Linked DNA regions of Homo sapiens: all the other regions are linked to region 1. The links are contacts of gene promoters, found by promoter capture Hi-C in blood cells and fetal thymus (Javierre and others, 2016). All regions are on one chromosome and are shown on one strand. Each heading gives the region's core, a stretch centred on a gene start or on the middle of the fragment in contact. The rest is flanking DNA. Distances are from core to core; before and after follow the strand shown.

Evidence for each region. Contacts are between HindIII fragments. The CHiCAGO score rates a contact against its expected background, and 5 or more counts as called.
Region 2: a contact is called between a fragment that was not itself captured here and the fragment with the promoter of PTRH2 in region 1, in 1 of 17 cell types (activated CD4 T cells). The highest score is 6.3, in activated CD4 T cells.
Region 3: a contact is called between a fragment that was not itself captured here and the fragment with the promoter of PTRH2 in region 1, in 11 of 17 cell types (activated CD4 T cells, endothelial precursors, M2 macrophages and 8 more). The highest score is 12.3, in activated CD4 T cells.
Region 4: a contact is called between a fragment that was not itself captured here and the fragment with the promoter of PTRH2 in region 1, in 2 of 17 cell types (fetal thymus and total CD8 T cells). The highest score is 6.8, in fetal thymus.
Region 5: a fragment that was not itself captured here is called in contact with the fragment with the promoter of PTRH2 in region 1 in 2 of 17 cell types (endothelial precursors and monocytes); the score reaches 6.0 in endothelial precursors.

The regions. Positions count from the first base shown.
Region 1 is chr17:59,704,442-59,709,327 of GRCh38, forward strand. PTRH2 (peptidyl-tRNA hydrolase 2) reads right to left here and starts at 2,989. Exons shown (of 2, transcript NM_016077.5): 1 at 2,930-2,989. It overlaps VMP1 (vacuole membrane protein 1), which reads left to right and starts at 3,213. Exons shown (of 12, transcript NM_030938.5): 1 at 3,213-3,307. RefSeq lists enhancers at 2,803-3,458, 3,259-3,318. The HindIII fragment of the contact is 5,892 bases long and covers 1-4,215 here.
Region 2 is chr17:60,053,946-60,059,160 of GRCh38, forward strand. It overlaps HEATR6 (HEAT repeat containing 6), which reads right to left. Exons shown (of 20, transcript NM_022070.5): 12 at 3,103-3,458; 13 at 2,170-2,292; 14 at 1,570-1,656. Among named protein-coding and RNA genes, the nearest start is that of MIR4737, 13 kb to the left of the region's middle. The HindIII fragment of the contact is 2,146 bases long and covers 2,758-4,903 here.
Region 3 is chr17:60,036,119-60,041,007 of GRCh38, forward strand. No RefSeq gene overlaps it. Among named protein-coding and RNA genes, the nearest start is that of MIR4737, 4.5 kb to the right of the region's middle. RefSeq lists enhancers at 903-1,032, 3,750-4,044. The HindIII fragment of the contact is 1,347 bases long and covers 1,106-2,452 here.
Region 4 is chr17:59,217,648-59,222,929 of GRCh38, forward strand. It overlaps GDPD1 (glycerophosphodiester phosphodiesterase domain containing 1), which reads left to right and starts at 2,864. Exons shown (of 10, transcript NM_182569.4): 1 at 2,864-3,104. The coding sequence starts at 2,963. RefSeq lists an enhancer at 2,890-3,440. The HindIII fragment of the contact is 164 bases long and covers 2,502-2,665 here.
Region 5 is chr17:59,270,949-59,276,577 of GRCh38, forward strand. It overlaps GDPD1 (glycerophosphodiester phosphodiesterase domain containing 1), which reads left to right. Exons shown (of 10, transcript NM_182569.4): 8 at 1-47; 9 at 1,837-1,888; 10 at 2,703-5,022. The coding sequence ends at 2,825. Among named protein-coding and RNA genes, the nearest start is that of GDPD1, 53 kb to the left of the region's middle. The HindIII fragment of the contact is 939 bases long and covers 1,852-2,790 here.

The DNA of each region.
Region 1 (4,886 bases), core at 1,739-4,238:
ATATCAGTTTAAAGTCAGAAAGGTCTGGGCTGGAAATATAGATTTGAGAGACCTTACCATATAATTGAAGTTACTGAAGAGATGGAAGAGTATGAGGCCACTTGGACAAATATGTAGAATGAAGAAAGGACTAAAACATAATCCTGAGGAAATGAACATTAGGAATCAAAGGAGACTGACATGGAGTGGCCAGGAGTAGGAGGGTCACATAGGGTAAGCTGTAGTGCACCTAGTTTCAGTGCTCTTCCACTCAAGTGCCTAAATACGGTGACAGGGCTGCACAGACATAGTATTTATGGTTCTAGTGCCTTTACAGCCCCCACCCCCTAAAAGAGACAAAGACAGAGAATTCTTTTTTTTTTCTTAAGACGGCATCTCACTTTGTCACCCAGGCTGGAGTGCAGTGGCGCCATCTCAGCTCACTGCAACCTCTGCCTCCGGGTTCAAGCAATTCTCCCGCCTCAGCCTCCCACGTACATGGGATTACAGGCACCCGCCACCACACCTGGCTAATTTTTGTATTTTTAGTAGAGACGGGGTTTCACCATGTTGGCCAGGCTGGTCTCGAACTCCTGACCTCAAGTGATCTGCCTGCCTCAGCCTCCCAAAGTGCTGGGATACAGGCATGGGCCACCATGCCTGGCCAAGTTTCTATTTGATGCTTACATATCAGCAGGACTTTTCTTTGATAATCTAACAACCAGACTCCAAACTGAACAAATATGCAATGTCAGCAATTAGGATTCTCTGAAATAATTTCTAGGCTGCAAAGTAACCAAATATCCCATACACTACATTCCGGTACTATCTGGAGAAGGAACTGCTCTACATAGAGAAGCTATTATGTGCTGGATAACATACTAAATCCTTTATATCCATTACCTCATTTATTGTTGCTATGAACACATAAAAAGGAAGATATATTAGCCTCATTTTAAAGATGAGAAATATGAGGATCAAACAGAGAAGTTGCCTTTTTCTTTATTTTTTTTTAAAGAGAAGGGGTCTCCCTCTGTCACCCAGGCTAGAGTTCAGTGGCATGATCATAGCTCGCTACAGCCTCAAACTCCTGGGCTTAAGCAATTCTCCTACCTCAGCCTTCCAAGTAGATGGGACTACAGGTGCATGCCACCACACCCTCCTGATTTTTTAAAAATTTTTTATTTTTGTATGGACTTGGTCTTGCTATGTTGCCCAGGCTGGTCTGGAACTCCTGGCCTCAAGGAGTTGCTTGAGGTCGAGGCAGCAGCATCTCGAGTCCAGTTCAAAACCAATCTGGGCAACCCAGTGAGACCTCATCTTTACAAAAAATTTAAATAATTAGCCAGATGTGGTGCCACATGCCCATACTCCCAGCTACTCAGGGGATAAGGTAGGAGGACACCTCAGGCTGGGAGGTGGAAATTGCAGTGAGCCATGATCGTGCCACTGCACCCCAGGCTGGACAACAATGCAAAACCCTGTCTCCAAAAAAAAAAAAAAACCCAATAAGATCAAAAACAGGACAGTGAAAGTTCCAAAAGTTACCAAGTTTATTTATTATGTCCCATATCTCAATGGAGTGTCTAATCATAAAAATGCTAAAATTAACACATATTTTTGTTCTTTAGGATGTTCTAATCTCATATTAATCTGATCAGATTATCATCTAACTCCTCTAAAACAACATGTCTGTCTCTTTTTCTGTACACTTACGACAAGCGTATCAATAAGCCTAGTGCCTAAGACTAAGGTAAAACAAATAACCATTCTTTGTCTCATAAATAATTCTGGGCAATGACAGCAGAACAAAATAAGTACATCCTATAAAATCTTCTTCTTGGTGCCTTCTAATTCCCCTGCCTCAGTAAACCCATTTCAGTAGTGCTCTTGATCCCATTACCTCCTTCTGCACCATGCTCCACCCGTTAATCTTTTTTTAAGAGACAGGGTCTCACTATGTGGCCCCCTATGTGGCCCAGGCTGTTCTCAAACTCCTGGGCTCAAGCAATCCTCCTGTCTCAGCCTCCCAAAGTGTTGGATTACAGGCTGAGCCACCGCGCCGGGTCTGCAGTTTACAACCGAAAAAAACAAACAAACCTTTCCCAAATCTTCTCTGACCCTTAAGCCACTGCCCCACTTTCCCTGTATAACATATTCCCAGAGTCTAGTATGGTGCCTGGGGTATGTCAGTAAGGATTAATACCTCTCTAGTTAATCTCTTTGTGTGAAAAAGGGGGGAAATTTTTTCTTTCTTTTTTTTTTTTTTCTGAGACGAAGTCTCACTCTGTCGCCCAGGCTGGAGAGCAATGGAGCGATATCGGCTCACTGCAACCTCCGCCTCCCGAGTTCAAGTCATTCTCCTGCCTCAGCCTCCCGAGTAGCTGGGATTACAGGCACGCGCCACCACGCCGGCTAATTTTTGTATTTTTAGTATAGATGGGTTTTCGCCATGTTGGCCAGGATGGTCTCGAACTTCTGACCTCAGGTGATCCGCCCACATCAGCCTCCCAAAGTGCTGGGATTACAGGCGTCAGCCACCGCGCCCGGCCCCAAATTTTCGACTATATTCTTAGAAACCAATTCTTTCCACGCAGAGCTCGACAGCTCGAAACGCTGGGGATATTCATAAGTGCCCAGCTGAGGGTATGAGGCCTGCTCGCTATTTTATCAATTTCGGAGAGAGCGCATCGATACTGCCTGCCTGGAGGCTTTGCTGGGAACTAGAAATTCTGAGTCTTCCCCTCCCCAGCAGCCTGTTCCTTTCCTCCAAAGGACGGTTCGCAGAACAGGAACAGAGGGCTCAGCGGCCCCTGGGCGGAAGACAGTTTATAAAGGAGAAAATGAAGAAGGTGGGTAATGCAACGAGGTGAAAAGAAACGTTCCTACTGGCGAGAAAATGAATAATGATATTGGTCTCCTTCGCCCTGTAAGGAGCCAACCAACCTACCTACAGTACCTCCTTTCCTCACTCGCGCCTTCCCTTCTTCTGGGCAGCGAACACGTTTCTATCGCGTGAGCTACCTCTTCCGGGGTTCCTGGGTGACAAGTTCCGGATCAAGAATCACAAAGCGAGCAGTCATTCTTCCTCTTGCCACACCCACAGGGCCCGCACTAAGAGCCTAACTGAAATCCCGCGAGGATCAACCGAGCTCGCCGAAAGGAGGGAGGAACGTATCCCTTCTGGAGGCTGTCTCAGGGGGCAGAGGGACCGGACCGGAAGTGACGTGAGCGGGTTCCGGTTGTCTGGAGCCCAGCGGCGGGTGTGAGAGTCCGTAAGGAGCAGCTTCCAGGATCCTGAGATCCGGAGCAGCCGGGGTCGGAGCGGGTAGGTAAACTAACTCAGGGAATTGGGGACCGAAGCCTGAGGCTGTCCTCAGAGCTTGGCGTCTTCCGGAGCTCTCCCACTTAGGCATTGCGGATCTGGGGCACTGTGATTCCGACTTCCAGCAGTGTTTTAGGACGCTGCTGACTGGATGTCTCACCCTGGATGTCTCACGCTGGCGGTAGCCAGGTTATTTGGGACACCTTCTCATGGTTGGTCACCCGGACATTGAACCCAGACACCGGGCTGTTCGTTCTCCTCTCCGCGTACTTGGAAGCCTTGCTAGGCTTCTTTAGAGAACCTCTTAGTCCCGGGATGTCCAGGACCTTGGAGTAAGTGGAGAAGGTCTTCCCTGCTGATGACTGAGCTATTTCTCAGGATCTGTCAGTTTGGTTTTTGCTCTCCCGAACCTCTGGCGCATGATGCTAGATGTATTCGCTCCTAAACGAAATCCAGGCGTGCAAGTGCCATCTAAAGCTCTGGTGGTACAGGGTAGCCAAGGGAATGGGCCTTCGCTCCGCAGAGCCCTTGGAGAGGAACTTCTCAGATTTTTCACTGCTTTAATGAAAAAGAGTTGTCTGCCTTTCCAAACCCCTGAACCCCGACCTCTATATCTTATTACAGTGGAGGTATTTGCAGTAAAACGTGAAGGTCGACTTAATCTCTAAAATTCCAGAAACCATATGTGGCCCTGTGTCACACTGCTAGATTACTTATGACCTCCAGAAGATTTTACACAATCATCTTTTATTTACCTGCAACTCCATGTAAAAATCTAATAATACACGTAGACTGGCCACTGTTGATGTGTTTTGGCAGCATCGCTCCTTATCCTAATGTTAACGTCTTTCATTTCTACTTTGGGGCTTGTCAGAGATTTTTGTGGACAGATTACATTGATCATTTGAAGAAGCTTGTACAAGTGTTTCTGGTGTTGTCATGATAGAATTTAATATTCCAGTTGCTACTACCTAGTAATTGTATTGTCATTAGCTCTGATTTTAGTTGTGTATTCTTAGCATAGATGATGAAAGGAAGAAACTTACTTACTAGGCATCATTGTATGCATTGTAGCTTATGTTTTTACTGTGGAAGAGGGATGGTGGTACCTAGACAAATGTGACTGATTTGTGTAGGTATGAAGTGACTCTCTCGAGTAGAAATTTTATATTTTACTACTTTGCCTACATTATCTTAAGGCACTGAAGGTTACTTTTTTCCTTTGAGGGATATATCCTACTTGATTACAATTGATTAATACAGTTTAATTTCTATGAGTCACATTCCAGAAGAAAATATACATAGAACCATGATGCCTTTTACCAGTTTACCTATAGCTAGTTAAATCAGTTTGTCAGTTTACATATTTTTCTTATTTTGAGTTTGAAAATTTGTTCACGCTTGGCTTTGAAACAAGGTGACAAAATTTGAGATATGGAATTATGATAGATGTATCATTAGTTTAACATTCGGTAAATTTGCTTCTTGATTATATAACTGCCAAATCTGATCTTATCTTCTTTATGTTCAATTGAAGGACTGATTATCCAGTTTTTCTCACTTTTCCAACTTCTCGCTTTTG
Region 2 (5,215 bases), core at 2,581-5,080, 350 kb after region 1:
AGCAACCACTTGCTAGACAGATTAGCACGACTAAAAGGGAGCCAGGTGCTAACAGCCAAGACTACGGGAAAACAGCCTGGAGGGCATTCTAGAAATCTTTGAGGCAACCCCTCCCATCACACACCCAGAGGCCTAGGAGGAAAGTGGTTTTGGAGGCCAGGCCCAGGGCCCCACTTCCCTGCACAGCCTTGGGGCACTGCTCCCAGCATCCCCAGCCTTGGCTCAAAGGGCCCCAGATACTGCTCGGTTTTCTGCTTAGTGGGTACAGGCTGTAAGCCTTAGCAGTTTCCATGTGGTGTTAAGCCTGCAGATGCACAGAATTCAAATGCGAAGAAGGCTTGGGAGCTTCCACCTAGATTTCAGAGGATTCCCTAAGCCTGGGTGCCCATGCAGAAGCCTGCCACAGGGACAGAGCCCCCACTGAGAGCCTCTACTAGGGCAGTGCCAAAGAGAGATGTGAGGTTGGAGCCCCTACACACGGTCTCCACTGAGCACTGCCTAGTGGAACTCTGGGAATGGGACACAGCCTACACCTAGCAAAGCCAGAAGGGCAAGGCTGCCAGAAGCCTTGGAAGCCCACCCCTTGCACCAGTGTGCACTGGATGCGGGACATGGAGTCAAGGACTATTTTGGAGCTTTAAGGTTTAATGTCTGTCCTGCTGGGTTTTGGATTTGTGTGGGGCTTGTTGCCCCTTTCTTTTGGCTGATTTCTCCCTGTTGGAATGGGACTGTTTACCCAATGCCTGTACCACCATTGTATCTTAAAAATCAGTAACTTGTTTTTGATCTTACAGGCTCATAGGTGGAAGGAACTTGCCTTGAGTCACAGCTGAGACTTTGAACTTTTGAGTGATGCCGTAAAGAGTTAAGACTTTGGGGAACTATTGGGAGGAGGTGACTGTATTTTACAGTGAGAGGAACATGAGATTTGTGGTGGCCAGAGGCAGAATGATATGGTTTGGATGTGTGCCTCCTCAAACCTCATGCTGAAATGTGACCTCTAACACTGGAGGTGGGCCTAATAGGAAGTGTTTGGGTCATGGGGGTGGATCCCTCTTGAATGGCTTGGTGCTGTCCTTGTGGTAATGAGTGAACTCTCACTCTATGAGCTCATACGAGAGCTGGTTGTTTAAAAGAGCCTGGCATCTCCCTCTTGCTTACTCTCTTGCCATATGACATGCCTGCTCCCCCTTTGCCTTCCACCAGGATTTAAAGCTTCCTGGGGCTTCCTCAGAGGTAGATGCTGGCACCATGCTTTTTGTACAGCCTGCAGAACTGTGAGCCAGATAAACCTCTTTTGCATAAAAAACTAGGTTTTATGCAAAAGAAATATTAGTTTTACTATTGCTGGTTATATGTTATACATAAGCCTACCACAAACTAAACTGCAAATAAACTGAAATGTAAAATAAAACCAATTTATACTAGTTTCATGTTTTCCTGGATTATAAAACATAATTTTTGACACTGGAAGAAACCATATCATCTACTCCATTTATCACTGAGCTTCAAAATAAAACTGCAACTGAAGCATTAATAAAAGAAAACTATGAATTGACATTTATTTACCAAGAAGACTGGTGCTCTCTGATCAGGTGCTGCAGTGGAGTCTGGTTTATACTGCTGTATTAAGCCTGTGCCCAGTTCTTCCAGAAGCTGCCAAGAAAAAGAATTACCGAAGTGGAGCATCAGAACTAATGAATGACTTCACTTGAGTAACACCTTCACTCTAGTAACACCTTCACTCTAGTAACACCTCCACTCGAGTAACACCTTCACTCGAGTGACACCTTCACTCTAGTAACACCTTCACTTTAGTAACACCTTCACTTGAGTTTGGAGATCGCCTCAAATCAAGGGGAAACATAATTTGCAACTAATTTTCTTTCTTTTTTCAGTCACTGTTAACAGAGGCATTCTTTCAAGGACTGAAATCAACAGCTATATCTTATTAATTTGTTACTGAGTCAATGCGTGGGGTTTATATGTAAGAGCCGAAAACAGAAGAATGCATGTCCTCCTTACCTGAAATCTCTTTAAGAAATCTCAGAATTGAAGGACATGTGGCAGAAGAATATAAAGTGAAGAAAAGGAAGGATATAAAGTGAAGAAAAGGAAGGATATAAAGTGAAGAGAAGGAAAAAGCATTGTGGTTTTGATGAAAATTACCTTTGCTCCATGAAGCTGAATGGATGGATCTGCTTCCCCCATGCACTTGCAAATCACCTCTCCAAGCTCCATCAAGTAGGCTTGAGTCATTGAAAAGTAGCCCCTTGCCAGAAGAGTCAATACCTGCAAAGAGAGCATGGAATTAACCCTCTAAGACCTGAGTGCAAGGCTGCAATATCCAGAAAAGTGTTACAATATTTCAGAAATCGCTTACATTTAACAGGGGCTGAAATCTGTTGAATGAAATTAAGAACCATAATCTTTATTTTGTGACTAACATCAATAAACTGTATCATAGTTTTATGGTGCTTTAGTATATGATTGCTTTTCATTAACAGAATCTCATTTAAGTCTTGGAACTATTCTTTAAAGTAGGTATTAACTGAATTTTACAACTAAAGAACCTAAGCCTGACAAGATGAAAGGACATGCTTCATGCTGCCCAGTTAATCAGCAGCAGACCTCAGGACCAGGCCTAGTCTCAGATCATATTTGTATAGAAAAAGTAAACTCTTTTATCTAGGATTGTTTTCTTCCTTTGAAGGAACAATTATTTTGTTACTCTAAGCAGGTACAAGACCAAGGAAAAGCTTATAGAGAATTAAACATTTAAGTTGCAAAAATCAAAAATTAACTGTACAATTTCACTCAGAATTATTCTACAATCTATTACATCCACTTGTCATATAATACCTGAAGGGACTAAAATAATTTGCAATCAAAGAACAAAAAGGAATGAATCTGCTATTTTACAACCAAAGAACACCTCCCCAAAACAAAACAACAACAAAACAATACACCACCCATACCTAAAATACAATTCCCACGAACACAATTGACATATGGCTTGGTTTTACCTGCTCGCTCCTCACAGTCACTCTGAAGGAGGAATGGTTACTTCCATTTCAGAGATGAGGAAATGAAATCTCCTACCTGTAAGGCCTCCAGTCGCATGGGGGATGGTTCGTAGGTGCTTCCTGCTGCAGAGCCAGCATCGCTACCTGAACAGGAATCCTCCTTGGGCAGTACGACAATGGAAATGCAGAGTCGAATGAGCCAGCAGGGCTCTGAAGACCCCTTAGGTGAGCTAACTGACGTTTCTTCCAGAGAGGGTCCTGCAGGGGCTTTCTTCCACCAATCAGGAGGGCTGAGGTGAGGGGTTGCTGAATTGCTATTACCGAGTCCAGAAGAACATGGCTGTTGCAGAAGTAGTTGGACTTCAGGTAAAGGTGCGTGGGTGGACACTATAGCTCCCAAGAGTGTGAGACTTGACACACGAACATTAACATCTGTCAAAGGAAGCAGTAAGAACTTATCATCATGGCAACAACTACTGTAAAGATGGTAGTTATCCCAGCAGGCAATTAAAAATTAGTAGTTCCTTGTGTAACCTGAATCTAATCAAACTTCTAGACCTCATTTCCAGTTTGGAAATACATGGGACAGGAGAGTAAGTTAACACCATAAAGAAACAATCTGACAAATTGAGAATGTGATTTATTTTGTTATCTTTGGTGACAGAGCTTAGAGTTCACATTCTATAAGACAATTGGGTTGGATTCTTTCCTAAGTCAGTTTGATATAAAAAAGATGGGTGGGGGGACTCTACATTTAAAAAGACTACAGTGACATAATAACTAAATGCAATGCATGTACCTTGAATGAACCCCGGATTTTAACAAGAAATATTTTTAAAAAGCTAAAAGGTCTGTGTCTAGACTCATTTTTTTTTTTGCATGTGATGTCCAGCTGTTCCAGCACCAATTGTTGAAAAGTATCTGCTCCTTTGTTGTAGATCAGTTGACTATATTTATGTGGGTCTATTTCTGGGCTCTCTATTCTGTTCCATTGATCTGTTTGTCTCTTCCTTGGCCAGTATCACACTGTCTTAATTACTGTAGTTTTATAGTAGATTTTGAGGTCAGGGAATGTCAGTCCTTCAGTTTTGTTCTTCTCTATCAATATTGTGTTGGCTATTCCAGGTCTTTTGCATATCCATATATATTTCAGAATCAGTTCATTGATATCTGCAAAATAACTTGCTGGAATTTTGATTGAGACTGCACTGAATCTATAGATCAAGTTGGGAAGAAGTAACATCTTCACAATATTGAGCCTTCCTATCCAGGAATATGGAATCTCTGTCCATTCATTTAGTTCTTTATTTGATCAGAGTTTCACAGTTTTCTTCATATAGATCTTGTACATATTTTGTTAGGCTCATACCTAAGAATTTCAGGGTTTGAACATTTTAATGAAAAAAAGTTACTTGAGGATAAAGTCAGATACTTGAAAGGAAACTTTGAGGCATGGTGCACTCTCCTCAGCTGAAGATGCAGATAATGAAAAGTTGGTACAGTGGAATGAGCAGGGGTTGTTCTCATCTTATTTCTGCCATGAATGTGATGGGAAACCTTAGGGTAAGACTTATCTTTCTGGGTCCCTTTTTTACATATTAGTGTAAGTAGTGAACTGGACTTAGTTACATCTCATTATCTCATTTGAGCCTCATAAAAATCTTATGATGTAGTTATAATTCTTGCTGTTAGGAAGAAATTAGGGTTCAGAGAGGGTCATGGCCATGAGATGGCAAAAATGGGAGTGGGATCCAGACCCTTGGATTGACTTCAGGTCCCATGCTCTTCCCACTATGTCACAGAAAACATCCACTATTCCTTCCTTGTTACAATTCTGCCTGAAAAACTGAACTCATCAGAATGTGGTCCGATCTGAAAGCTTGCAAACAAAAGAAAGGCAAATCTACAAAAGGCAAGTGTTTATAGCACAAATACATTATGTGTAGGAGGAAATAATAAGACTGCACTTAGTAAAGATTTGAAGTTCTGGGGTTTTATCTGAACTTCATAGGAAATAACAATAAAGAAGTTAAATTTTGTATTCCAGTTTTTCTTTCCAAAAAGTAGATAATATCTATCTGTCCGTCTGTCTGTCTATCTAACCATCCATCCATCCTCTACCTATGTGTAAGGGATATAAACAATCATACTCCTCAGGGGGGCTGCTTGCACCTGGCTCAATCTTAATT
Region 3 (4,889 bases), core at 529-3,028, 330 kb after region 1:
GCAGAGCAAGACCTTGTCTAAAAAAGAAAAAAAATTGTTGTTTTATGATCCAGAATGTGATCTATTTGTTCTAGGGATTACTGAGAAAGGCAGGTTGGGGTGTCCAACTGTAATTGCTGATTTGCCATTTCTCTTTTCAGTTCTGTCAGGTTTTGCCTCATGGATTTTGAAGCTCTGTTGTTAGGTACATAGATGCTTAGGATTGTTAATGTTTTCTTTGAAAATTGACCTTGTTATCATTATGTAATGTCCCTCTGTATCCTTGGTAAATTTCCTTGCTCTGAAGTCTGTTTTGTCTGATGGTATGTAATTACTCCAGATTTCTTTTGATTAGTATTTGTATGATATATCTTTCTTTTTTGTCCTTTCATTTTTAATCTATACTATTTACTTAAAATGAGTTTCTTAGACACATATAGTTGAGTGTTGGGTTTTTTGTTTGTTAGTTTTTTACATTCAACAATCTATCTTTTTATTAGCATATTTCAACTTTTTAAATTTAATATAATCGTTGGTATGTTTGGATTTACATTTAATATTTTATTGTGTTTTCTATTTGTTCTCTATTTTTCCCTGTGTTTTTCATTCCTGTTTTGACTTTTCCTGCCTTCCTTTGGATTATTTGAATTTTTTGGAATTCCATTTTAATTCACTGATTTTTTTAACCATATCTTTTTGTGTAAGTTGAAAATGTAGTTGCTTTAGGGATTACAAAACACCTAGGTTTTCATAGTCTATTTAGGTTATATATTTAGTGCTTCACGTGAAATGTAGAAACCAGCCTGACCAACATGGAGAAACCCGGTCGCTACTAAAAATACAAAATTAGCCGGGTGTGGTGGCACGCACCTGTAATCCCAGCTACTCGGGAGGCTGAGGTGGGAAGATTCCCTTGAGCCCAGGAGTGTCTTCAGGAAATTAAGGTTCTCTCTGTTCTCTACAGGTCAAGTAGTTATGGACGGTATCCTGAACATTCTAATTTTGTGTTATGAGAATCTGGGCCATGTTGGAATCCTGTGTTTTTGCTTTGGCAGGCAATCGTCCTGGTTAGGTTCAGTCACAAGTTCCCACCTGCCTCCTGCGGGTTGTGGTTCAATATCAATTAAGCTTCAGAGCCTTTGCCGCGCTGTTCAGATCCGCCCCGTGTGTGCGCCACCCAGTGGCGGGTACGAGACTGGACAGTGCCTTGTCCCACCGTTCAGTTCTCAAAGCCTTTGTTCAGATCCACACATGGAATGCCTGGGCATGAGCCCAGGAGTTCACATACAACTTTAGGGTATTGCCTTCTTGCGTTCCCTCCTCTCTGAAATCTCAACACTTTACAGTCTCAGGGGTCCCTCTTTCCGGTCCTCTGGCTAGAAAGTCAGGGTTTTAACTGTACTGCTCTGCCCTACAGTTTCTGTGACTGTCTGCCTCCACGGCCAAGCATGGAAGGTTGTGTAAAGAGAAAAAAGCCATGGGCATGACTCCCTTGCTGTTGGGACCATTCTTCCTCTGGCAGAGAGATGAGTTTCCTTCCCTTGAAGTTCTAGGCACCTGCCTGGCTGCCACTGCTGCAGTGAGATTGCCTAGGGGCTGGTGTGGGGAGAAAAGAGACAGCAAACACAGGATTTCCCCGCTTTTGCTGACCTATAGGGGTGCTTACCTCTCTCCTAAGGTCAGAAACAGAGGCTCAGAGCTCTTTCTATCTGCATCTGGTATGCAATTCCAGGTTTTGGTTCATCTTTGAGTCCAGGCCAGGAGACCCCAGAGGGGGAATAAAATGGCAGACTTACTGCCACTTTGGTGGTGTTTAGAGTTCTCTTTTCCTTCCCTGATCTTCCTGCTACCACCTTGTTTTCAGAGCTAGCTGCTCCATGCCTGTGGTCCAGGATTCATAGTAACATTCAGTGGGAAAGACAGGACGGAGTATGACTGGAATGAGAATGGGAGAAGAATTTTTATTTAAAAAACAAAAGCATGGATTTTTAAAGGTTGAAAAATGCACACTAATTGGGGGAGAAATTTCTCTTTCCCTCCACAGTGTGGTAGCTGTAAGCCTGATTCCTGGCTTGAATTTTTTTATTCACTTTTCCAGATGACCTTTAGAATCATTTTGTCCTTAAATTAGCCAGGTGTGGTGGCACACACCTGTAATCCCAGCTACTTGGGAGGCTGAGGCACAAGAATTGCTTGAACCCATGAGCAGAAGTTGCAGTGAGCCAAGATAATATGACTGCACTCCAGCCTGGGTGACAGAGTGAGATTCTGTCTCGAAAAAAAACATCATTTTGTCCTTTAAAAAATTCTAATTTTGATGGGAATTTTATGAAATGTATAGATTTGGAGGAAAGTAGCCTTTTAATAGATTGAGTCCTTCAGTCTAGTAATGATATATCTTCTCATTTAAAAAAATCTTCTTTTATGACCACTGGTAAAAGTTTTTATTTTTTTTCCTCAGAATCCTTGCATAAGCTTGGTTAAATTTATTCTCAGGTATTTTTATTATTAAAATTTTTATTAAAAATCAAATTGGTTATTGCTGATATATAGAAGAGCTACTGATTTGGCATGTTTACTTTGTAACCAGCTGCCTTACAGAACTTTTATTGGTTTTTTTACTTTCTGAATATTGGTTTAATTACTTTCTGAATTTTGGTTTTATTACTTTCTTGGTTTTCTGCACACAAGGATTTGTGAATCCAATCACTCAGACTGGTTTTCTGCAAATAATGATAATTTGGAACCTCTTTTTGAAAAAAAACTTTGAAAATTTTGATTTTTGGTTTATTGAATCACATTGGCCATTAAAATTTCTTGTACAGTATTAGGTAATATTGGTGATATCATTCTTGCTTGTCTTGGTTCTGAGTTTTAGGGAAGTCCCTATTAAGATAGGTATATTTCATTATGCTAATGAATTATCTTTTTGAATTCTTTTTTAAAAATAATTTTGATCAGAAAAGGATACTGCATTTCGTCACTCTTCCAGCATCCATAAAGATGACCATTTGTATTTTCTTATTTGACCCACTAATGTGATTGCATTTTATTAATAGGACTTTCCTGCATTCCTACAGCAAATCCTGGTTGGTCATGGTGGAGACTGTAAAGCAATCATTCTCAAGGAGGGGCTTTTTCACGCAGTATGCCTGGAGAGAGGCTGCACCACCACCGCGTTCCTCCCCGATGAGTCCAGTGAGCCACGGCTGCGGGCTACGGTGTTGTGGTGCTCGGGTGTGTTGGAAGGAAATGGTAATTGAATGAGTGCTCATTTTCCAAGACTTTGGCCCCACCCCTAATATAATGTCCATGTTCCTGGAGCTGAGGATGCCTTCAGCCTAGGCTTGAGGACTCAAGGTGTGTACTAGAACCAGACAGACATTCTCCAATATCCCACTCTAGGGATCTTACTCCAATGAGAAGCAGAGAAATGCTAGCCCCGGGAGAAGACCTAGGAAAAGTGTAACAAGAGGCACCATCTGTCACTGAGCCCCTCTCTCTATGCCAGGCTCCGAGCCAGGTGCTTTACATTATGGGAGCTACTCCTGAACAACTGTGTGAGATACTGGTATCCCTTTACAGATAAGTGGTCAAGTGACTGCCCAAGGGTGTAGTCATTAAGTAGAGGAGTTGCCCTTTAAAACCAGGAGTAATTCCTGAGCGTGTGCAAGCTGGAGATGTGATTCCTGAAGACTGGCTCGCAGAGATGGGTCATGAGGCAGAACCAAGACCTACTCCCCTACTTCCCTGTTCAGTTTGTGTGGCCTCTCCCACTTCTAGTCCCTTCTCTTTCCTGGGAGGGACCCATGGGGGCTAGACAGAGGGCTGTTCCTAGTAGGATAGAGAGGTCCTGCAGCAGCGCCTCTTCCTCACTGCTTATCTTTCTGATCCAGGTTCCCGAGGCATGCCAGCTAGCACCTGACCTACAAGATTCCAGCTGTTTAACTGCCATCACAAAGGCTCATGATGTGTTGACAGTATTTCTGCCTGCTGCTCTGAAAATTCAAGGAAATAAATACCTGACATTTATTGAATGCCAGAAGCTGTTCTAAGAACTTTCTATGTATTATCTATTTTAGTCATTATAATATCCTTATGAAATAGGCACTTTTATCCCCATTTTACAGATGAATAAAATAAGGCACAGAAGGGTTAAGCAACTTTCACAGGTAGAAAGCTGCACAGCCAGGATTTAAGCCCAAGCTCTTAACCACTGCACTACATCAATGCAGCAAAGGCTGAATGAACCAGAGTATTTGATTTACTTAGCTCTTATGCTGGAAAGATGGTGAGGCTTTTGCTCATGGTCTGTATTCAAGCACAAATACCAAAATCAAGGACACCTTTGCATTGGTGCTCCATAGGAGGTTTCCTTTTTTGTTGTTTAGAGAGAAGGTCTTACTCTGTTGCCCTGGCTGGAGTGCAGTGGTGCGATCACAGCTCACTGCAGCCTTGACCTCCAGAGCTCAAGCAATCCTCCACCTCAGCCTCCTGAGTAGCTGGGACTATAGGTGCGCACTTCCACACCCAGCTAATTTTTAATTTTTTTTTTTTTGTAGAGACCGTCTCCCTATATTGCCCAGGTTGGTCTAGAATTCCTAGGGCTCAAGTGATCCTCCCGCCTTGGCCTATTGGGATTACAGATATGAGCCATGGCACCCAACCTCAGAAGAGGCGCTTTTCTTGAGTTCTGGAAGGGGATAGGAATTAATGTTTTGTTTGTTTGTTTGTTTTTTACTCGTCACAGAAAAGGTTCAAAGAGTAAGATAAGCAACGTCTCATAATGCTGTAGTCTAATGGACAAGGGCCCTAGCCATCTGTGCCTGGATGACTCTTCCTCCCAATTTTTAAGTGTCAAAAGATAATTTAGAATCTGGCATTCTGCATTAGAAATCTGAACCAGTGGA
Region 4 (5,282 bases), core at 1,334-3,833, 490 kb before region 1:
CAAGGTGGGCAGATCACTTGAGGTCAGGAGTTCAAGACCAGTCTGGCCAACATGGTGAAACCCCATCTCTACTAAAAGTACAAAATTAGCCGGGCCCAGTGACTCATGCCTGTAATCCCAGCACTTTGGGAGGCCGAGGCAGGTGGATCATCTGAGGTCGGGAGTTCGAGACCAGCCTGACCAACATGGCGAAACCCTGTCTCTACTATTAGCCGGGCCAGGTGATGCATGCCTGTAATCCCAGCTACTCGGGAGGCTGAGGCAGAAGAATCGCTGGAACCCGGGAGGCAGAGGTTGTGGTGAGCTGAAATCGTGCCATTGCACTCCAGCCTAGACAACAAGAGCGAAACTCCTTTTCAAAAAGAAAAGAAAAGAAAAGAAAAATATACACACACACAATATTAGCCAGGCGCGGTGGTGCGCATCTGTAGCCCCAGCTACTCAGGAGGCTGAGGCAGGAGAATCACTTGAACCCCCGGGGAGGCAGAGGATGCAGTGAGCCGAGATGGCACTGCTGAACTCCAGCCTGGACCACAGAGTGAGACTCTGTCTAAAAAAAAAAAAAAAGCGGTTAGAATTTGAGGTTTATATATAATCTAAAATTTACGGGTGGGAAGGGGTAGGGGGTACTTCCAGAAGAACAAATGACTTCTTAGAAGCTGGGGAGAAAGCACTTTTTGGAAAAAGAAATGATTTTTTGGAAACATAAATGTGTCCTTAGGAGAATACCCATGAGATGTCATACTTTTGTGACAATGTCTCTCATCTCTGACAGGATTAGAATTGTTCCCAGGGAGGAGATTTATGACAGTTAAGTTCTTCTGGGAGCCTTTGATTTTAGGTTGATAAGGGATTCCAGGAACTTAAATGCCTTCAGCTCAATATATATATATTTTTTAAGAGACAGAGTCTTGCTCTGTCGCCCAGGCTGGGGTGCCGTGGCATGATCTTGGCTCACTGCAAGCTCCGCCTCCCAGGTTCAAGCCATTCTCCTGCCTCAGCCTCCCTAGTAGCTGGGACTACAGGCATGCACCACTATGCCTGGCTTATTTTTGTATTTTTAGTAGATACGGGGTTTCACCATGATGGCCAGGCTAGTCTCGAACTCCCGACCTCAGGTGATCTGCCTGTCTCAGCCTCCCAAAGTGCTGGGATTACAGGCGTGAGCCACCATGCCCAGCCTCAAAATAATTTTTATGCCACAGTGGTTTATTCTAGACGCTTCCATAGTCATCAGGTGATATTTTGAAAAATAGAACTATGTGCGTCAGTTGATCTACAGGAAATAGTTTAACAGCCCTAAACAGAACACATGATTTTTTAACCTGTAAGTTTCCTCAGAATGTTGCTCTGTTGCCCAGGCTGGAGTGCAGTGGCACCATCAAGGCTCACTTCAACCTCGACTAAAGGAATTTTTTTTTTTTTTTTTTTTTTTTTTTTTTTTTTTTTTTTTGAGACGGAGTCTCGCTCTGTCACCCAGGCTGGAGTGCAGTGGCGCCTTCTCGGCTCATTGCAACCTCTGCCTCCCGGGTCCAAGAGATTCTCCTGCCTCGGCCTCCTGAGTAGCTGGGATCACAGGCACACGCCACCACCCCTGGCAAATTTTTGTATTTTTAGTAGAGATGGAATTTCGCCATGTTGGCCAGGCTCCTGACTTCAAATGATCTGCCCGCCTCAGCCTCCCAAAGTGCTGGGATTACAGGCTTGAGCCACCGTGCCCAGCCACCCCCTATTTTCTTCTAATTTTCTTTTTATAGTTGAGATAGGGTCTTGCTCTGTCGCCCAGGCTGGGGTGCAGTGGTGCAGTCATAGCTCACTGCAGCCTCGATTTTCCAGGCTCAAGCAATACTCCCACTTCAGCCTCCCAAGTAGCGTGACTACAGGTGCACGCCACCACGCCGGGCTTATTTTGTTTTATTTTTTGTAGAGATGGGGTTTCGCCATGTTGCCCAGGCTGGTCTCGAACTCCCGGGCTCAAGCGATCCACCCTTCCTTCCCGGCCTCCCTAAGTGCTGGGATTACAGGCGTGGGCCACCGCGCCCGGCTGAATCAGGATTTTAAATATTCACTCTGCTTTTCTAGTCCTGTGGGAGATATGGTCTTCTCCGTAAAATTTCTCCCTCAGTCCTGGGTGATTTATTTCTTTTGCATTGAAGTGTGTGGCTTTTCGTGTGTTAGCAGTTTGTAATTTGTCGGGTAAAAGGAAAACTAGTAGGGCCTTCTGGAACTTAGTTATCTGTCTTTCTAGGACTTTTAGGTAATACCTTATAACCTTAACAAAGTTTCCTTATTTTATACGGACTTGTAAGTCAACAAATACTTCTACAGTGCCTATTGTGTACAAAGAATGAGGATTGCACTTTCACAATGAAATGAGGGAGGACAGGGGCCGATCTCTCAGATATTTGACTGATAAACCAGTACCTTTTCTAGTATATGCGACCATAGGGGAAATTCTCTCTAGGCTAGATAAACGGAGGAGTTTATTTAGTGTTTTAGCAAGCTTTATCGCCTCCATAGGTACAAATTATTTGCATTTTCTAGAGCAAGGGATAAGACGCGCCCTGGAATCTTTCCTTTTTGATGTGGATTTTCCAATTAGGAAAGGCTGCCCGTGAATAGTCTTTTCTGCTTGAGTGATGGCCAACACACTGGCAGGTTTGCAAGCTTTCTCTTCATGAGGGTCCGTCCACAGAGCTAGGTGACAAACGCTCAGTCCAGGATCTCTGCAGGTTCCTACACGGGAGCCGGAGAGCGCCTGCGCGTCGGAGCCTCTTTGTTGCTGGGGCGCTGGGGTCCAGCTGCGCGTGCGCAGTAGGCCGGCACCGACAAGTGCGCTGCACCAGTGGCACCGGCTGGGGGCGAGCCGACCTCGAGCAGCCGCCGCCGCCGCCGTCGTTGCTACTGCCGCAGCGGAGTTCAGAGGGCCCGGAGGTGGGAGACTTCCCACACGGTGACTGAGATGTCGTCCACTGCGGCTTTTTACCTTCTCTCTACGCTAGGAGGATACTTGGTGACCTCATTCTTGTTGCTTAAATACCCGACCTTGCTGCACCAGAGAAAGAAGCAGCGATTCCTCAGTAAACACATCTCTCACCGCGGAGGTGAGAGGGGTCCCCAGAACCCGATGACGGAGGTGGGGGAGGCTGAGGGTCCTTTGCGGCTCCGCAAAAGGCAGCCGGGTGCCAATCCCTGAGAGTTTGAGGAAGAATGGGGTTGTGTGAATTGAGGGCTCTTCCGGAGGTGAAGGCTGTGTGAAGGGAAGGTCTCCTGAGGGGAGGGAAGGAGAGGGATTCCCGGTCAGAGCCACGGCGGGGGTCTCTCGAGGGCAGCAGTGTGAGGGGTTCTCTGAAACGGGAAAGACACGGTCGAGAATGAAGGGTAGGTGGAGCGTTTCTCGGCGGATGGAAGGATGATCGCAAGGTCCCTTCCTAGCAGCAAGACACAAAGGGGGAGCGCCGTGCAGAACCGAGGGTACCCCGCGGGGGGCACCGGGAGCACACTGCTCCGAGCGAGCTAGTGGCTGAGTGGATGGGAAGAGCCGAGGCGACGAGGAGGGCTGGGGATTTGCATGAAGCTGGACGAGCTGTAACCCCTTGTCTGCGGTGCTGGGGGCCCGTCCCACCCCCACGTTCCGAGCACTCATAATTGAGAAGAGAGGGAAACCGAGTCCCCCGAGCCAGGGACATTTCCCAAGGTCACAATTAGAGCTAGGGCTGAACTGAGACAGGAGCTACAGCGTCCTGGTCCTCAGGGCTGGAAACCTTGCATCTTTTTTTTTTTTTTTTTGAACACTGCAATAAATAAATAAATAAATAAATAAATAAATAAACACGCAAAGACACGTGGATTTTCAACAGACTAAAAATGATTTCGTTTAGGACAGGACAGTATTGTTTAAAGAAAACAAAAATAAGTTTCTTTTGGAAAAGTGTTTTGCTAAAAGGAGCCCAGGTAGTCCACCCTCTAATTTCCCAGATAACAGGCCAAATCTTTGCTTCTTCATTATTGTGTAATAATGTGTCTTCATTGCATTTCAACTATGATGTATAAAGTGCGGTGAAATTGGATTATTTTCAATCAATTTTAACTGTTCTTTAAGGCTGAATCTTAAACCGGTTTAAAATTTGCTTGAAATTTAATACACACTTGAAATGATAATTTCTAGGAGTTTACAGTCTAAAACTTGGTGTAGTACCATAATCACTTTACTAACAAGTATTGGCCAAGGAAAAAGGTTTTGAAATATAAATACGGAAGTACATTATCATTCTTCTATATAATTTTATTAGTTAAGCATAGTTCTAATGAGTGACTTCAATAGTATTCTAGCCTTCCCACTCATGAAAAGCCTCAGAGGTTTTAAAGGGTGGTCAGCCAAATGCCTTGTTATTGTTTATTTGGGTTATCTGTTTTAATAGCTACCTGGTTAAACTGTAGGATGACATTTAACTACTAAGGTGCCTTCAACCATTGGAACCAGGGACCGACTTTTAGTATTCAAGTTGCTGTCACAGAAGCAATTTTCTTTTTTCTTTTTGTGTTTTTGTTTGTTTGTTTTTTTGTTTGTTTGTTTTGAGATGGAGTCTCGGTCTGTCACCCAGGCTGAAGTGCAGTGGCGCGATCTCGGCTCACTGCAAGCTCCTCCTCCCGGGTTCACGCCATTCTCCTGCCTCAGCCTCCCGAGTAGCTGGGACTACAGGCGCCCGCCACCACACCCAGTTAATTTTTTTTATTTTTAGTAGAGACGGGGTTTCACTGTCTGAGCCAGGATGGTCTCGATTTCCTGACCTCGTGATCCGCCCATCTCGGCCTCCCAAAGTGCTGGAATTACAGGCGTGAGCCACAGTGCCCAGCCTTTTTTTTTTTTTTTTTTTTTTTTTTGAGACAGAGTTTCCCTCTTGTCGCCCGGGCTACAGTGTAGTGGTGCCATCTTGGCTCACTGCAGCCTCTGCCTCCTGTGTTCAAGCGATTCTCCTGCCTCAGCCTCCCGAGTAGCTGGGATTACAGGCTCCCGCCACCACGCACAGCTAATTTTTGTATTTTTAGTGGAGACGAGGTTTCACCATGTTGGCCAGGCTGATCTCAAACTCCTGACCTCAGGTGATCCACCCGCCTTAGCCTCCCAAAGTGTTGGGATTACAGGCGTGAGACACTGCACCCTGCCAGAGGCAATTTTCAATGATAGTAGTCCTATTCTGGGGATAGGCAGTACACATTACTTTTTTGTTTGTTGTTTACCGATTTACAAAAAGTATGCTTACTAAAAACTCCAAAACAAA
Region 5 (5,629 bases), core at 1,071-3,570, 430 kb before region 1:
CACACCATGTCCAGAAGTCAAAAGTTTCTCATCTGGCTTTCTGATCTGTAAGAATTTTAATTTCTTAATATGCAAGTTATTGCTTCAGCTATATTTATTAAATACTACCCTTAAAATGTTGTGCAAGCTTTCCACATGTAATTTGTAACAAGGACAAATTGAGCACCTGCTATGTAAAATGTGTATGAATCATTTAGAAATATCTTAATTACTAATCACAAAATCTTAGGAAGAATCTTGAGAGATAATGTCCTCCAACTTCATGAGAAAACTGAGCCCCCATATACCCAGTTAAATTATTTACTTGGGGTTATCTAGCTAGTTAGTAGCAGAACTAGGTTAAATAACCATTCCCTTTAGCTTACTTGCTGGTGAAAAGAAGTGTAGCAACACAGTATATATAAAAGTGTATGTTGCCTACAGCACATTTCTCAGAAAAATTTGCTCTGCACCAAGACTTAACAGCAGAAAGGAAATCCCACCTATAGAGTGGATATCAACTTTAAAGTAAATGCCTTAATTTAGACATGATGAGTTTAATTTTAGTAAAAATCACTAAATAATTGTACTATATTTTGCTTTAAGATGGAACCTTGAATGCTTAAATATTTTAATAGTCCCAAATCACAACTTTTTATTATTTAACGCCTTTTCTTCTTATTTTATTTTATTTTATTTTATTTTATTTTATTTATTTATTTATTCATTTTTTGAGATGGAGTCTTTCTCTGTCGCCCAGGCTGGAGTGCAGTGGTGTGATCTCGGCTCACCGCTTCCTGGGTTCAAGTGATTCTTCTGCCTCAGCCTCCCGAGTAGCTGGAACTATAGGTGCCTCCCACCATGCCTGGTTAGTTTTTGTATTTTTTAGTAGAGATGAGGTTTCATCATGTTGGCCAGGCTGATCTCGAACTCCTGGCCTCATGTGATCTGCCCACCTCAGCCTCCCAAAGTGCTGGGATTACAGGTGTGAGCCACCGCGCCCAGCCTTAACGCCTTTTTCAAAGAGTCTTAAACAATTAGTTTTATCTTTTCTCTCTGTCAGTGTTTATTCTTTTTTGCTTTATTCTTGATTTAAGCTCTAGTTTTCAAGGATGCCTTTTTTTTGTACTCAAGTAAAACCAGGATGCATTTTTTTTCTTTTTTCAACCCTATTAACTGACAAGATGCATTGTTAATTGGTGTTAAAAGCACATGATTTCTAGTTTCTGTTATTTAATCATTCTAATAGACATAACAGAATAGAAATAATGTCTTTCCAGTGCAATGAATTCCTATCTTGCTCAAGAGGTTTGTATTTTGAAAGTTCACTTATCAGTGAGTTACTTGGAACAAAAAAATATTTTTTCCCTAGACATAGGATAGTGTAATTAATGGACATAATGCTTCTAACATCGCTTACAAAAGACTAATCCATTGTGTAATGAACTATGATGTTATAGAAATTGACCTGCATTTGTTGACTTATTTTAACTTGGAAAGTTAGGAACACACATTAATAGTAAGAAAGGAAAGCCAGCTCTTTCTCCTTCTTCAGCAGTGAAAATGAGGCAGCCTCTTTTCCATTGAGCTGTGCCAACAAGAATGGGTCTCCTATGAATCTGGTAGCAGCAAGAAGTAGAAAGGAGGTTCTGGTTGTCCACCAACCAGCAGCCTGCAGTGAAAGGAGATCCAGCAATTAAGACATAAATTAATTCACAACAGCTATTATTACTTGAGACCATTTCTTTTATTGCTGAAGCATTGGGATTAAATTAAACTGGAATTACTAAACTCTAAATTGACTAAATTAGGACTAAGGACTAAATTCCTAAATCAGTTTTGCTTTTTCTTTTCTAGCTTACTAATGAGGAAAGCTTTGTTTGACCACCTAACTGCTCGAGGCATTCAAGTAAGTTTCTGGAATGATGCATTTTGGAAGCAGCATAGCTCACCAGTTTAACACAAATATAAAGGGCAAGAACTTTTAACTGACTTAGTTTGGCCCTTGACTCTGATGCTGCTGCTTTACTGATCCACAAATGAGGACCTTAAGCTCTTCCTTACACTTAGCAATAAAGCATTGGCATTTCTGGATCTAGATTCCTCTTATGTACAGAATAGCTGATGCCAGAGGGGTGGGACAGTGTTTGTGTGTGTGTATATATATATAAATATATGTATGTATATTTCTTTTTTTACTTTTTTCTTTTTTTTTTTTGAGATGGAGTCTCACTCTGTCACCCAGGCTGGAGTGCAGTGGTGCAGTCTTGACTCACTGCAACCTCCACCTCCCAGGTTCAAGCAATTCTCATGCCTCAGCCTCCTAAGTAGCTGGGATTATAGGCATGCACCACCATACCTGGCTAATTTTTGTATTTTTAGTAGAGACTGGGTTTTGCCATGTTGGCCAGGCTGATCTCGAACTCCGGACCTCAGGTGATCTGCCTGCCTTGGCCTCCCAAAGTGCTGGAATTACAGGCGTGAGCCACCGCGCTCAGCCAGGAGTCTGTATATTTAACAAGCACCATGAATTTTTTTTTAACACTCCTCATTCCTGTAAGGAACAAAGTGGAATTTTAAAAAAGGATCTAATGATTTATTTAAATGATAGCTTTAAAAGGTTATTTCTAAATGTACCAAGACTGTAGTGGATAAATACTGTTATAAAAATAATTTTCTATTTTAACATTTCTTCTCATACTTCTCACACTTCTAATTTTCAGGTGTATATTTGGGTATTAAATGAAGAACAAGAATACAAAAGAGCTTTTGATTTGGGAGCAACTGGGGTGATGACAGACTATCCAACAAAGCTTAGGGATTTTTTACATAACTTTTCAGCATAGAAAAAGAGGTACTTAGAAGTATTGAAGGAAAAAATGAAGACCTAAGAAAAAAATATTTCATGATCATTTCCCTAAGCCATTTCCAGAATGGTAAAAGGTTTAATCAGTTTTTATTACCTCATTTTTAAGCCTGTATGAGAATGTAGAAACTATATATTATATGTATATTTATTTTAAATAATATTGTATATTTTATGTTTGTAAATTGTTTAGAAAGATAATTGGTTATGAGATGTAAGTTTTAATTTCTTAATGTGCATTTTTGTTTCTAGATCTTATACAGAAATCTTGATTAATAACATACACAGAAATGTACATACTACATCATCTACAGAAATCTTGATCAATAACCTAGAAACTAGGTTATCTAGGTTATTGATCAAGATTTCTGTAGATGATGCAGTGTTCTATCATAAGTAATTCTGGAATCAAAGACTATTGGATACATTTGGCATTGGGCTGAGTGTGGTGGCTCATGCCTGTAATCCCAGCACTTTGGGAGGCTGAGACAGGCGGATCATCTGAAGTCAGGAGTTAAAGACCAGCCTGGCCAACATGGCAAAACCCCATCTCTACCAAAAATACAAAAATTAACCATGCGTGGTGGTACACGTCTGTCATCCCAGCAGCTCTTAAGGCTGAGGCACAAGAATTGCTTGAACCCGGGAGGCAGAGGCTGTAGTGAGCCAAGATAGCACCACTGCACTCCAGCCTGGGAGACAGAGTGAGACTCCGTCTCAAAAAAAAAAAAAAAAAAAAAAAATGGGAGGCCGAGGCGGGCGGATCACGAGGTCAGGAGATCGAGACCATCCTGGCTAACATGGTGAAACCCCGTCTCTACTAAAAATACAAAAAATTAGCTGGGCGTGGTGGTGGGCACCTTAGTCCCAGCTACTCGGGAGGCTGAGTCAGGAGAATGGCGTGAACCCGGGAGGCGGAGCTTGCAGTGAGCCGAGATCGCGCCACTGCACTCCAGCCTGGGCTACAGAGCAAGACTCCGTCTCAAAAAAAGAAAAAAAGAAAAAAAATTGGCAATAGTCTTCACTGGAATACAATCAATTAGTAAAAGATTTTTTTTTTTTTTTTGACATGTAGTCTTGCTCTGTCGCCGAGGCCGGAGTGCAGTGGTGCGATCTTGGCTCACTGCAACCTCTGCCTCCCAGGTTCCAGCAATTCTCCTGCCTCTGCCTCCCGAGTACCTGGGATTACAGGTGCCTGCTACCATGCCCAGCTAATTTTTGTATTTTTAGTAGAGACAGGGTTTTGCCACGTTGGCCAGACTGGTCTCGAACTCCTGACCTCAGGTGATCCACCCACCTCGGCCTCTCAAAGTGCTGGGATTACAGGTTTGAACCACTGCACCCGGCCAGTAAAAGAAATTTTGAAGGCCATTGCAGCTATTTGGTAGTGTCTTGTTATTTCTAGGTGTACCTTAGTTAAAGAGGAAAAATAAAACGGAAAAAAGCTTGGAAATCAGTGATGTGTAGTTATTTGGCAAGTTATACATAATCAGCAGCAGCCAGGCTCAAGAAAATAAAAGTTGATTAGTTGATCAGAAATAAAATCTGTAGAGTGAATTAGATTTCTGAGTTGTTGTTGTTAATGGAACATTCTATTTGAGACCTTTTTCAGGTGTGTAGCAATTCTACCATGTCCATTTTTTTAAGCATTAAAAAGGAACTTACCAGTTGTAAATTAAGACAAGATCCAAATAGTCATATTTTTGTGTTTCCTCTAAAAAAATGTAAGATTTCCATTTTTGGCACTGACTAACTGAGCCTACATCTAGATTTTAAATACCATCTTGAATCCTAATAATTAAACTGATGAAAGTGCATATCATTGTTCCTAACATTTATGAACCCCCATAAAGATGTTCCTGATCTTTAAAACTCATTAATCTGAGTATTAAGTAGAAACAGAATTTTCCAAAGCATTAGACATCACTTTCTCAGTTTATCTGAGGTGACTTCGTGTACATCTGTTTCTAATATATTTGACTAATTTTCATGATCTCAGATTGTGAGGTAAATGTAATCTGGAATAATAAGTGTCTTTTACCTAGATTACATCTCTCATTTGGAGTTTGGCAATGAAACTGCTATGAAGAATGACTGTACTCTCCTATCTGTCCCTGGATGACATAAATATCATTTGCTTTGTTGTTTAAACTGAAATAAAGTTTTCCAAGAACAAAGTAAGCATTCTTCATTCTTTTTCAGTTTTAATTCCAAATATACTTTATAGATTTTTTTGCAGAATTTAATGAGGTGATGCTTTAATCATATGAATAATAAATGCACCTGAGATTTCTCTCTAGTAAAGAAAAGAAAATATGGAAACACTTTTATGGTAAGAAAGTTACTTCTTGGCATTTGAACAAATAACTTGGGAGGGTAATCCACTGAATCAGTCATTTTCAATTTCACTTATTGTAACTTATGGTTATAGTTGCTAGGGATCATTTTGATCATCTTTGATAGAATTCTTTTTGTTATTTCTCCTTTCTAAATTTTGCTTTGTTATGATTCAGAACAGATCATATTAAAGGGCCAGCTTATATTTTATGTAAACCAGTAGAAGAAAAAGTACCCAACAAGGTAAAGATGTTTAGAAAATAATGTTTCAAAAGTTTGGTGATTTTATAGTCAAGGTGACTTTAATTTTCTTAATAAAAACATAGTATTTTCTAACAAGGAAGTTGGTCATCATTCAGTTAACATCTGAATTCTGCTTTTTGATAGGGGCATCAAGTTTTTTGTTTGTTTGTTTGTTTGTTTTTTGAGACAGGGTCTTGCTCTGCC